Linked DNA regions of Homo sapiens: regions 1 and 2 are each linked to region 3. Evidence: promoter capture Hi-C in 16 types of primary human blood cells and fetal thymus (Javierre and others, 2016). All regions are on one chromosome and are shown on one strand. Each heading gives the region's core, a stretch centred on a gene start or on the middle of the fragment in contact. The rest is flanking DNA. Distances are from core to core; before and after follow the strand shown.

Region 1 (4,694 bases), core at 1,556-4,055, 5.8 Mb before region 3:
GTTCTCAACAAGTTGAAATTTATTTTTACAGAATGAAATTCAACAAGGAATTGACTAATACACAAAATGAGTTTTGGAAGAAATTTAATCAAGGAACTGAAAAGCTAATATAACCTACAGGAACACAGATAATCTTCTGGTCATATAAAGAAATTATTGATCAGTCAACAAAAGGAACTAAAAATTTTGGTGTCTAAATAAAACACAGAAAGCCAGATTATTAAAAGGCCAGAGAAATGCCTAAATCTGCCCAAATATCAATGACAAGAGATCTGTATTAAAAATTAATATTTAAGAATAATTGGTTGTAGATCTGGAGATTAACATAAATAGGCATGAGATGACGGATACGTGCTAAATGAACTAAGTACAACATGCACTGGAGCTAGATTTCAAATCTAGCTAGAAGACATAACACAATGAAAAACAGTATATAAGCTGCACTAGTAAAGAAAAGCAAGTCCCCTAAGGGTAAAAGAACAAGTCGACTACAACTAATGTTTTTGTTATGCACTGATGCATACTGACTTAAAAAATAATGGTTCTGGTAATCTCCCCAACAGATCTCTACAGATCAAAAGAGTTACTATATACTTAACTTTCCATGAAAGGTGGTTTAGGAACTTCAAGTGTGAATCTCTTGAATGAGATATTTCACAGAGTGACTTATGTAATGGAAAGCCATAGTGAAACACTGCAATAGAAACTATCTGTAGCAAAATATGCATATATAAGCTATGATACACTCTTGATACAAAATATGCATATACAAGCTATGATACACTCTTGATACAAAATATGCATATATAAGCTATGATACACTCCTGATACAATCAGCACATATCCCAAAATTAATTTGGCATAATTTAGGAAGAGAAAAATGTAAAATATACTGTAAATATTATATATTTATGATAAAGTATGATTATTCAAGTACAAGTGCTTTCAACATCTACAGTATATTAAAGTGTGTTAATACTATGGGATTAAAAAATTAATCTATGATGGGGTATCCTTCAAATTAACACATCTGATTCCCAAAGGATTCAAAATGGTTATTACATATATTAAGATTTCATTGTGCCAATATGCCTTTATACCCAACTGTTGACTAAACCAATAACCTTCATAATCTGCTGGTTATTGAGTATTTTTTATAGAACTGAATTGACGGTTGAATTGAAAGAAGCCCAAGCATTATATAAAAGTATACATGTCACAAAACCTGGTGATATTACCTGTCAATGTTTGATCTCAACAGAAGATCAAGGACAGCGATTTTCTCTGAAAATGGGTCTTAAACAACAGAGACTAAGTCTATTTAATAAATAGAAAACAGGTTCTTAATCTAGAGTCCAAGATTTAGTACAGGGAACCCAACAACATCCTGAAGCTTTATGTACAATTCTGAGTATTGGCTTTCATCAGATTTTTGAAGGAGTATGGGATCTAAAGACAGAATTAGTACACCTAGGAGTGTGACAGTCTTGTTAGCAGAACAACTTCATAAGACCTTAAGTTACTCAACAGCAAATACCTGAATAATAGTAACTTCACTGCCACAGAGTTACACACTAGATTTTCCTCCTCCTAAGGATGTTTCAAAAAAAACAAAAACCCTCAAAGGTGCCACCAAAACCCAAGAAATGTTGTTTCTAGAAACTATATGGGATTTTTACATCGCAGTTAAGACTACAGGAAAATCATGAGACAGTTTCGGCATTAAAGAGAGAAGAGAATGACACATATTCCTCCCGATATCACTTTATAAAACCTCCCATTCCAAGCCCCAATAACAAACTAAGTAGAACATCTCAGATATACTCTCTCAGAATCTTAAGGGTGAAATCCAAATGCCACTCCCCCCCGAGAGAGGCAGCAAACAAGTTTCTCCCAATTCCAACAAAGTGGGTAAACCTAAGGCCTACAATTAGAAATGAAAGATTCTGCCCATCTGCTAAAATAAGGAGGGGCTTGTCAGTCTTGTCTGATGGAACTGGAGGGGAGCGTGACAAGAGAGGTTGCACAGGATAGGCCCAGATCTTACTCAAGAACTGTAGCCCTACCAGATTGGTGTGGGTATGAGAAAGCAACTCAGCAGCAGAGGTAGGTAACAAAGGTAGGACCTGAACCTCCTAGTGAGGAGCTACGTGGCATTAAGCAAACAGTGCTTCGTCTCCCTCACACCCAGCTTCCGCCCAAACCATTTTCCCCTTTGGTTACCAGTTGCTCCAGATGCCGTAGAGTAGTTCCACAAAAGCGAAAGAGAGGTTCAGGCACAGGAAGAAAAACAGGTTCCGGGAAGTCTTGTCGGACAGTATAGACCTGGGAATGATACACGTGGAAAAGAGCCGGGAGAGTTAAGGAGGTGCCGGGACCCCGAGGCTGGGTACCCTCTTCAAGACCCTCCCAGTTCACATGCTCCTTTCTTCACAGCTAGGGGTTGACGGGGAGTTTTTGACTCTCCCTCACTGGACCTCGGGCCATCCTGAGGTCTGGGCCTTCTCCCTTTCTGCCGGACACCCCCTCCCCGCAAACACAGCACCCCGCACCTAAACCAGCCCGAGATCTTGCCGAACAAATTGAACTTGGGTGGTTTGTATTCATCGTCTTTGATGGACAGGGGCAACATCTTCTCTGCCCGGCGAAGGGCCGGGTCTACTCCCCTCTAGAAGTGGCTCCGTGGGGTGATGGCAGTGACAGTAGTGACGCCTCAAACGGGAATCCCCAGCGCTTGTCCGGGGCCGCGCGCCGCTGCGAGACACAGACAGACACAGACACACACCCGGGAATTCGCTTACTTCCGGCCCGGGCCGCGCAACGCGTCCTGGGACAGGAAAGGAGGGAGGCCGGTCGCGGGCGGGGCCTGCGCGGCGGAGGGCGTGGCTTGCGGCGGGGGCGGGATGAGAAAGGTGCTGGAGCTGTTGGAGGGACGCCAGGAGGTGGCAACTACCAGGGGGTGTGAGGGGCTGACCTGGGATGGAATCCTGCCACCCGGACTCAGGAAGAAAATCCTGAGGTGGCGACCTGCAGACTGGGCTGGGAGATGGAGAGCCCGCTCACGCCCACCCGACCGCCTACCACCAGTGTTCCCGGATGCATGGGCTCCAGCGCCTGCCCTTTCGCCATTTCCTCCCAACTGGCATTAAATCCTGGTGTGGTAGATATCAGTGATTAAGAGTCTAGGCAGCCACGTGTTCTATTGCCGCCAGTCCGCAGGAAACGCAAGTGATCGTTTTGCTGCGTTAACTCTATGGGCGCCCAAATCTTAGGAATCCATTCCACGCCACCCCGAAAACAGCGCTTGACCCTTCTGGACTGCCACGCAGGAGGCGATCAATGTTTTTCTTTCTTTATTTTTTTAAGAGACAAGGTCTCGCCCTGTCACCTAGGCTGGAGCACAATGAGGCTCACTACAGCCTGGAACTCCCGGACGCAAGTGATCCTCCTCAGCCTCCGGAGTAGCTGAGACCTCAGGCGTGCGCCACCATGCCTGGCATCAATCAATGTCTTTCAAAATAAAGGCTGTTAAACGTAGTATAGGAAAGAAGCTTTTTAATGGTAGGTTCTACCAGACGTGTTTGTTTGATTTTTAGGTTTGGTTAATGCATTGTTTCCCGTACAATCTCAACCCGCGGAAACCCCGAAACTCTAGAATTCGTGCCGGTCTCTTTCGCTTCCAGGTCATCCCCGGGGCAACGGCCGCCGCTCTAATTCTTGTCAGAACCTCCAGGCCAGTTTCAGCAACGTGCAGGCAGAAGCTGGCCCCTCGGTGGGATGCGAGGGCGTGTGGAGCGCGGGGAGGAGAGCCCCACAGGCCTTTCCTGGGCACCCGCGGTGGATGGGAAGGCTCCTTCGGGCGCCTTTCAGGGAAGTTGTTTGGCTGAGGGAAGGTGGTCCGTCACGTGAATGTTTAAAAGTTGTTACCTTGGAGAAGAAATGGAGGAAAGGATTGGCTTTCGGAGGTGGGCTGGAAACTACAAAACCGAGCTTCCTGGGAATGCCTTTTAGGCCGACAGGAAGTGGAGCGTCACCGAAAGGGAGGGGCGGCCACTCGGGGACTGTCCCTTGCTCCAGGCGCTCACTTTGCGGGCGGCACTTTTTCCAGGTTGTTAATCCAGCTAATGGAGAAGGATAGATGCACGCTACTTGGTTTAGAAAAAAAAACAAAAATGAGCAAACGAGACGCCCCTTCCGTTTTATGATAACTAAGCTGCAGGGAAATAAATCGGCTGGCCCTACTGCAATCTACTGCACTCGAGGTAAGGAGACACAGCAAAATGCTCCAGTATTAGTATTTTTCTTTTTGTAGTGAGGATATATGCATGTTTTGCTCTCGTTCTGAGAACTTTGTGTGTGTGTATGGAGTATTCGGTGGTTTTATTTTTGAAAATATGTACTTATTCTACAATTTTGAAAAATGTTAATTAAAACTGCTGTGTAAAAACAGCTAGGTTTCAGAAGTAAGTTCTGGGAAGAGTATTTTGTATTTGCCTTTGTTAGCGTATATTTCATTCTTTTAATTTAAGTGTAGAAATATTTAAAATTAGTAGCATTTACTCTTTTTTTGGAAGGAAGTTTTTGTATTAGCAGTAGACCTTGAATTTTACTCTACTGCACTGCTGAGGAAAAATTAATTGGGTGCAAACTAGATAGTTTAAAGATAAATAATTCTATGGTAATTGGATTTTTCT
Region 2 (4,065 bases), core at 11-2,510, 5.1 Mb before region 3:
TATGCTTTGTTCTCAATTGTAAAAGGTCAATTCGTATATATTTAAAAATCTTTCCTTCCCATTCCAGCAAAGTTGCATTCTTAAAAACTGTAAGTCGAAAAAAATTTTTTTTTCTTTTTTGAGATTCAGTCTGGCTGTCACCCAGGCTGGAATGCAGTGGTGTGATCTTGGATTATTGCCACCTCCACCTCCTGGGTTCAAGCGATTCTCCTGCCTCAGCCTCCCGAGTAGCTGGGGTTACAGGCTCGCACCACCACGATTTTCTTAATTTTAGTAGCTCGCGCCACGGCTGATTTTCTTATTTTTAGTAGAGAGAGGGTTTCATCATGTTGGCCAGGCTGGTCTCGAGCTCCTGACCTCAAGTGATCCGCCCGCCTCGGCCTCCCAAAGTGCTGGGATTACAGGCGTGAGCCACCGCGCCGGGCCTCAAGTCTAAATTTTTAAAAGAAAGTTTCTTCCAACCGCATTCACGAGAAGTGCTTCTCTTTCATGAAATAACAATTAGAACACAACTAGTGAAACCTTTGGGACTTCAATCACTACTTTTTCTAAACTACCACTTTCCAGCAGGAAGACGGAGCGGTAGCTTGGGGTAAAAATTAAAACCTAGCATTACCATGAGTTAAGATCGAGATAAATAGATCAAAATAAATGGGTCACTGCTGGCGCTTTACTTAGAAAAATAAAAAATTTCTCATCACTAGAACTCATAATCGCTCCGCAAGGAGGGCAAAACTGGGTTTATTAAAGTGAAAGCTGGAGAATCCAGGGGACACAAGCAGAAAGCTGTCAAAGAGGGGAGGGGCCGGGTTCCAGCACCGACAGGACCAGGATACTTATTTCCGACTCTTGAGAGAGTAGGGCGATACCACACCTCCGCGGCTCCAGCGTGTTCACCACAAAATCTTTTCCCTGCGGCCACCACCATCCTGCAGAACCGTTTCTTCTTTTCCACATAGTAACCGCATCTACCCTCAGCTGGAAAACCAGGCGCGTGCGGCGACGTCGCGGAGGTCGCCATAATTCTAGGGCTCGCTTCCGGTGTCCAGCATCCGGCAACCAGAAGAAAAGTTAGAAGCTTCCTTCGGGTCTCCTTCCCTTAACAAACATGGCTGCCTCAGCCCCCGCGCCACACAGGTTAATACCCGGAACTACCACAACCGTCTTCCCTTTATCCTCCGCAGAACCGGAAGAATCCGATGGTGGCTGGCGAGGGCCAAGTCTCTTACGCCTTCCCCTCGTTTCTCCCTCCCCGCCTCCTCCGCAGAAGCCGAGCGCCAAACTCAAACTTTATCAGGACCCGGACCTCTCAGGCTAATCCCGAGGGCCGGGCCTGTTGGGCTTTTCTGCACACCAGCCGAGGCAGCGAGCCAACATGAGCCAAGTGCTGTTCCACCAACTAGTCCCGTTGCAGGTGAAATGCAAAGACTGTGAGGAGAGGTAAGGTCCGCGTCATCCAGTGCCCGCGGGTGGCGGTTGGGGTCAGGCCAATGGGGAAAGATGGCGGTTCTGGCCCGTGGGATCCACCTTGCACCTAGGTGTCGAGTCGGCCCCCCTAGGAAGCGGATAGGGAACCCAGAGGGCCCGGTGGTTACCTCTCTCACCAAGTCGGCCGTTGCAGAGGGGACTGGAGGAAGGGTGTGAGGAGTTAGGAAGCCGGCTCACATCAAGTTAATGTCAAAAACCCTACCTGTGCACGGAATCGTGAAGATTATAGCCCTACTCTTCCCTTTTGACAGATAAGAACTCTGGCCCAGAGAAGTTAAAAAAATTTACGTGAGGGCTCACAGCCAGTTCATGGCAGGGTCAGGACTAGAACTCAGGCCTTGGCTCCGAGCCTTTCCCCCTCGTTCTCTTTTGAAGTATGTTGGCAGTAAAGTTCAACTTTTAAAAACCTACCAATTTGGTGGCGTACTTTGGCTCTTCACATCAGTTGCTTTAAAAAAGTAAATTACATTTAACCGACTAAAAATGAGAAAAGCAGAAACGTCATTAATTCATTCAATAAATATTGCCTCCTTGTAAAACACCTTACTGGGCACTGGGAATACAGTGGTCAGGAAAAACAGTCCTTTTCTTCATGGAGTTTACAATCACTGGAGGAAATAAAGACCAGTCGCACAGAGAAGTGCAACTTTGATTAAGGAGGTGGTATTATTGGGGCGTAAATAGATTTGACCAGAGGTCAGGAGACTTACTTTTTTTTTCTCAGTTCTAACACTCAATGGTTGTCTCTTTTTTTCTCTGAACGTTCTTTCCTCATTTGTAAAACTGATATAACATGCGTATTCACGTGTTTGTAATGAGGATCAGGTGTGAAATCTTTTGCGTATTCACGTGTTTGTAATGAGGATCAGGTGTGAAATCGTATGTGAAAACTAAGTGGTGTACAAATGTAACATAAAAAATGAAGACATTGCCTTATTGAGTTGCCAGTAATGTCAAACTGTAGTATATATAGTTCAGAATTCGGTCAAAAATCAATGGCAAGCCGGTCAAGGAGATGGTCCCAAAACCAGCAGCTGCATATGGAGATCTGTAGGTTTAGTTGATCATTCTTTTAATGCTGTCCAGTATGGTAGCCACTAGCCACATGTGGTTATTAGACATTTGAAATGGGGCTTATCTGAATTGTTGTGCTTTACATATGAAAATGCACGTTGGATTTTTAAGACTTACTATGAAAAAAGAATGTAAAATATGTCAATTTTTATATTATGTGTTAAATGGCAATATTTTTGGGTATATTGGGTTAAATACAATGTATTATTAAAATTAATTTCACCTGCTTTTAAAAGTCTTTTTAAAATGTGACTTCTAGAAAATTTAAAAGTAGGCTAGGTATGGTGGCTCACACCCGTAGTCCCAGCACTTTAGGAGGCCAAGACAGGAGGATTGCTTGAGCCTAAGCTTGAGGTTACAGTGAGCTACTATTTGTGCCACTGTACTCCAGCCTGGGTGATAGAGCGAGATCCTGTCTCTGAAAAAAAAAAAAGAAAAAGAAAAAAATTAAAATTACATACCTGGCTCACATTTGTGGCTTACATTGTATCTCCATTGGACAACACTGTTTTAGAATGATTATAGAAAGATAAAGGAGGCCATGACTTTGGTTTCAATATGGAAACTCCTAGATGGTCTCTTTCTGGTTACATTGCCATCACAGTTAATCTAAAAACTCAATTTCTCTGCTTAGAAACCTTTAATATATTCCTATTATCTGTATAATAGGGGTCAGCAAACTGGAGCACATGGGCCAGTTGGCTCACTGTTTTCGTAAATAAACTTTTCTTGGAATACAGCCATGCTCATTTGTTTACATATTGTAGCTGCTTTTGCACAGGAAGGGCAGAGATGAGTAATTGTGACAGAGACCTTATGGCCCGCAAAGCCTAAAATATTTGCTATCTGGCCCTTTACAGAATAATTTGGTGATCCTTGACCTATAGGAAGAACAACCCAGACTCTCTCTCTTTCTCTCTCTCTTTTTTTTTTTTTTTCTAGACAGAGTCTCGCTCTGTTGCCCAGACTGGAGTATTGTAGCACGATTACAGCTCACTGCAGCCTTGACCTCCTGGGCCCAAGGGTTCCCCTCACCTTAGCCTCCTGAGTAGCTGCAATTACAGGCGCATACCACCACGCCTGGCTTTTTTTTGTTGTTAATTTAATTTAAAAGAGACGGGGTCTCCCTGTATTGCCCAGGCTGGTCTTGAACACCTGGGCTCAAGTGATCCTCTCACCCCAGCCTCCCAAAATTCGGGGATTATAGGCGTGAGCCACCACGCCCAGCCCAGACGCCTTGGTTGAGTATTTGAGGCCAGTTCAGCTCAACAAATACTGGCAAATGTCTGCTGTGTCTCAGGAACTGTCCTAAGTGTGGAGGATGTAAATACGCACCCCCCTCTCCGTCCCCAACAACAACAAAAGCCAACAAAAACCTCTTTTCATTCTGTCCCTCAAGGAACTCACATTTTAATAGGGGAAATAAGATTTTCCTTGAACAGGCACCATAGCACAGATTAGGAGTTCAGGCTCTGGAGCCAGATTGCCTGGGTTTAAGTCCCA
Region 3 (4,683 bases), core at 1,332-3,831:
GGTGAGTTGTAGATCATCCTCCTCCCACCTCCACCAGCTTTGAAGTCGCTTTCCTTTTATGCCTGGGAAAGTGATATAAGTATGGCCAAAAGGAGTGAAAGAAAGTCTGCTGTGAGGGGTTCTAGAATAAGTTTCCTTGCCTTTAAAAAAATAAAAAATAAAGCAGGCCGGGCGTCATGGCTCACCCGTATAATCCCAGCACTTTGGGAGGCTGAGGTGGGCGGATCATGAGGTCAGGTTCAAGACCAACCTGACCAACATGGTGAAACCCCGTCTCTACTAAAAATACAAAAATTAGCTGGGTGTGGTGGCGCATACCTGTAGTCCCAGTTACTTGGGAGGCTAAGCCAGGCGAATTGCTTGAATCCCAGAGGTGGAGGTTGCAGTGAGCCGAGACCGTGCCACAGAGCAAGACTGGGGGGGAGGGGCAAAAAAGACCCGACAAGATAACCTCTTTTTTGGCTATGGAGATTGCCCTGTTGGATGTAACCATCCACACATCCCATTCTGGGACCACTAGTGTCTTAAGTATCAGGTAAGACTGTTTCAGGTTGAAGACATTATTAGGAATGGCAGAGTGGGCATATACAAGTAAATGATACTCCTTGTATTATCCTTGAGCTGTTTTTCTTACTACACCAAAGACCCTACCTCTGGACTTCCAACTACGCATTTGTAAGCCCAGAGAATTCTGATTCCATTAAAATTTGAGAGACACTGACTTCTAAGTCCACAACTATGAACTTTCTCCACCCTTACTAGCTAAGTAGACTTAGGCAAATTATTTAACTTTTATGGAATCTACTTCTTTGTCTGTAAAAAGGGAACTAATATCCACTTTAAGGTCTTACTGCGAGAATGTATAGTTAAGAAGATTTGATGGAGCCGGGCGCAGTGGCTCATGCCTGTAATCCCAGCACTTTGGGAGGTAGAGGCGGGCAGATCACCTGAGGTTAGGAGTTCGAGACCAGCCTGGCCAACATGGTGAAACTCTGTCTCTACTAAAAAAAAAAAAAAAAAAAATAGCCAGGCATGGTGGTGCATGCCTGTAGTCCCAGCTACTTGGGAGGCTGAGGCAGGAGAATCGCTTGAACCTGGGAGGTGGGGGTTGCAGTGAGCCAAGATTGTGCCACTGCACTCCAGCCAAGCGACAGAGTGAGACTCTGTCTCAAAAAAAAAAAAAAAGAAAAGAAAAGAAAAGAAAGAAGATTTGATGGAAGACAATTTGGAAAGTGTTGTAAGGTCCACGGACTCTACTCACAAAGTCTCCCAAACTTGCTTGCTGATAGGAATGGACACGCTGGTTACATAAGCTAATCCCAGGTGCCCGATCCCCGGAAATTCTGATTCAGTGTTTCCTAATGGACCCTGGGAGTCTGCACCTTTAATAACACATTCTAGGCTCCAGGTAAGTGTGGTGATCAGGCAAGTTTGAATTTAGCAAAGGAATACAGGATGCAGTACTCCTGTCCAGCAGGACTCAGATTTCTGGTTTCTGATTCTAGATCTGACGCTATTCCACTTGGGCAAGCAGTTGCACCTTTCTGAACCTTTTTACTCATCTGTATACCTGTTCAATATAACCTACAGGTAGGTCTATGGTGGACCGAAGGCAAATTATATTTGGGGTGAAGGGGCTCCTGATCTTAGTATTTTATGTTGTCGTAATGTGGATTAATTAGACATAATTAATTTATTAACAATTAATTAATTAGACATAAGCAAAATTGAGATTGAAGGGGGTGTTGGCAGATCATCATTTTGGCTGAGGACATGAGAAACACACTGGAAATGCTTTGTGATAAAATTAACTGAATATTAATTGTAGGACTGTGCCTTGTCTATCCTGCTACCTAGAGCCACTGAGCTTTGCAATCCTCTTAGGAGTGTGGCTTACCTTTAGGTGGTCACCCTCAACTACTCTGGTCACACTGAGAGCTGTGAAAACCTCGAGAAAAGTTAAAAACATACATGTTGGGAGACAGGGGGTTTGGATGAGGGCCCTAAATTCGATGTTTAAGCCTAGGGTCCTTACTGGCGAACACTTTCAGTAATGTCTGTGTGCAACAGAAACATTTCTCTTGGCATTAAAAAAAAAAAAAGAAAGAAAGAAAGGATGTATTCCCTTAGCTTCAGGTGGCATTCACGAAGTTGACAGAGCCAGAACACCTCCTAACTGGGGAGTTTCGGGACCTTTAGGGCGCAGAGACTGCCTGACCTCGTCGTGGGCGTAAATCAAGCTTCCCCAGCGCTTAACTTTACAATTTTCAGCTTACGCTTGGCTGCAGCTGCGCACAATCCGCGCAGAAGCAGGGGTTCCGCTGACAAACGTGAACGTACAGAACGTAGAAACCTTTTAACGCTAATATGCAGTTTCCCTGTATGGCTGTTGTGCATTATTAATCTAGGTATTGCGTATTTAGTTTAGGAAACACGAATACTACATGATAAATGAGGTAAAATGGATTGTGACTGGGACCTCAGCTTCTCCGTCGCCTCCACTCCTCCCAGCTCAGGAAAGACCAGCCCACCAAGACGTGCGTCCTCCGCGTTTGAGTCGCTTCGGCACCCGTAGTTGTGAACTTTGACAGCGGCTGGTCCCCGGAAGTTGGACGCATGCGCCGTTTCTCTGCATGGTGTGCGTTCTCGTTCTAGCTGCGGCCGCAGGAGCTGTGGCGGTTTTCCTAATCCTGCGAATATGGGTAGTGCTTCGTTCCATGGACGTTACGCCCCGGGAGTCTCTCAGTATCTTGGTAGTGGCTGGGTCCGGTAAGTATCGAGGAGGCGACTGTCGGACTTGGGTTGGTCACTACAAACCCCAGAGTGCACCGCGACGCTCTTCCCTGGTACCCTTAGCACTTCTTGGAGTGTTGCATGCAGAGATTTGTAGTTTCTCTGCCTTGCCGGAACCGGGCAGTCCAGCCAGGGTAGGGGCTGGTTTGCTGACGCGGCCCAGAGGTTTTTTTTATGACAAGTAATTTACACTTGTCTATAATTAAGACTCTCTGTAGCGTATATTTTTCAAACAATTAGTGAACAGAGAACGTAGAAGCCTTTTGATGCAAACATGCAGTTTCCCCGTATGGCTGTTGTGCATTATTAATCTAGGTATTGCGTATTTAGTTTAGGAAACACGAATGCTACATGACAAATGAGGCAAAATGAATTGTCACATTTATAAATATACAAAGTCCAAGAGGATAAAAACAATGATCTACGGGCTGTAGAACAATACACACGCGGTGGCAGAGTGTGAGCAACACACTGACCTGTCAGGTAATACAATCTAAATCCACCAACTCTGTAGGTGCTTACAATTTTAAATACACATATTTGACAGGGACAGACAGACACACACAGACACAATGTAAACATTTGGGTATGGCAGGAGATTGCATCCAGATAGAACATGTATAGTATGAGTAAATGTACTAAGTTTATGTTCAAGTATAACGCATTACTTTATTCACTTAATCTGTTTTGAGCTGTTAGAAAGACCAAACACTAAACTAACCTCTGGAAATAACAAAACTGACTAACATTACTTGCCACGGAGTGCTGACTCCGTGCTAAGTCCTGTGAGAGATGCAAAGATACAGCAGTAAATGAAATAGAGAATACAAAAAAACTAACAGAAAATAAATCAAAATGAGTATTTGCCACAATGAGATAAATGCTATAATCTTGTAATAATTGTGTAAGAAGTACAAATTGCTATGGCAGTCTTCAGGAAGGGCACTACTTTATCAGGTCTTAAAAAACAGACAGCTTCCTGGAAGAAATGATGCTAAACTGAAACTTGAAAGATGACCCAGAATTAGTCAGATGAGGGACAGCCAGGGTTTCGAGGGCTGGGAGGATGTGAAAAGAAGGTGATAACACTTGGAATGACCAGAGTTGAGAGAACACTATCGTGTAGAGTTCAATGTAGGGAGGTAAACTGAGTCCAGATTGTAAAGAGTATTTAAAATCTTGCTTTTTTTCTTTTTTATACAGAGTCTCACGCTGTTGCCCAGGCTGGAGGGCAGTGGCGCAGTCTCAGCTCACTGCAACTCCACCTCCCAAATTCAAGCCATTCTCCTGCCTCAGCCTCCCGAGTAGCTGGGATTACAGGCGCACCACCACACTCAGCTAATTTTTGTATTTTTAGTACAGACAGTGTTTCACCATGTTGACCAAGGCTGGTCTTGAACTTCCGACCTCAAGTGATCCTCCTGCCTCAGCATCCCAAAGTGCTGGGGTTGCAGACGTGAGCCACCCCTGGCCTAAAATCCTGCTTTATAAAGCAATTGCTGCTACTCCACTGTTGATATCATGTAGGGGTTAAGACCACAGGCCTCTAGGTTGTCATAACACCACACATGAATCACATTTCTGCCACTTACTACCTTGGGGATCTCAGGCAATTAGTTAACCTCGCTGAACCTTCTGTTTCTACATGGGTTGAGAGAGGACAGGAGAGATTAAATAGGATCATATTTAAAGTGTTTAGGCCGGGCGTGATGGTTCACACCTGTAATCTCAGCAATTTGGGAGGCCGATACAGGCGGATTGCTTGAGCTTAGGAGTTGGAGACCAGCCTGGGCAACATAGTGAAACCCTGTCTCTACATTAAAATAAATAAATAAATTAGGTGGATGTGGTGGCATGCACCTATAGTCCCAGCTATTTGGGAGGCTGAGG

What was found. Contacts are between HindIII fragments. The CHiCAGO score rates a contact against its expected background, and 5 or more counts as called.
Region 1: the fragment with the promoter of SLC30A7 here is called in contact with the fragment with the promoter of ALG14 in region 3 in 1 of 17 cell types (naive CD8 T cells); the score reaches 5.0 in naive CD8 T cells.
Region 2: the fragment with the promoter of SASS6 here is called in contact with the fragment with the promoter of ALG14 in region 3 in 4 of 17 cell types (non-activated CD4 T cells, naive CD4 T cells, total CD8 T cells and 1 more); the score reaches 15.9 in non-activated CD4 T cells.

The regions. Positions count from the first base shown.
Region 1 is chr1:100,894,201-100,898,894 of GRCh38, reverse strand. It overlaps SLC30A7 (solute carrier family 30 member 7), which reads right to left and starts at 2,805. Exons shown (of 11, transcript NM_133496.5): 1 at 2,553-2,805; 2 at 2,224-2,325. The coding sequence starts at 2,632. It overlaps EXTL2 (exostosin like glycosyltransferase 2), which reads left to right and starts at 4,053. Exons shown (of 5, transcript NM_001033025.3): 1 at 4,053-4,262. RefSeq lists enhancers at 2,301-2,460, 2,511-2,760, 3,311-3,380, 3,275-3,997, 3,998-4,694. The HindIII fragment of the contact is 2,158 bases long and covers 1,396-3,553 here.
Region 2 is chr1:100,130,125-100,134,189 of GRCh38, reverse strand. SASS6 (SAS-6 centriolar assembly protein) reads left to right here and starts at 1,260. Exons shown (of 17, transcript NM_194292.3): 1 at 1,260-1,440. The coding sequence starts at 1,376. It overlaps TRMT13 (tRNA methyltransferase 13), which reads right to left and starts at 1,027. Exons shown (of 11, transcript NM_019083.3): 1 at 875-1,027. The coding sequence starts at 1,021. RefSeq lists enhancers at 813-1,342, 1,353-1,472, 877-1,479, 3,253-3,302 and a silencer at 1,475-1,638. The HindIII fragment of the contact is 1,832 bases long and covers 1,081-2,912 here.
Region 3 is chr1:95,070,849-95,075,531 of GRCh38, reverse strand. It overlaps ALG14 (ALG14 UDP-N-acetylglucosaminyltransferase subunit), which reads left to right and starts at 2,581. Exons shown (of 4, transcript NM_144988.4): 1 at 2,581-2,769. The coding sequence starts at 2,634. RefSeq lists enhancers at 2,460-2,819, 3,060-3,139. The HindIII fragment of the contact is 2,572 bases long and covers 2,243-4,683 here.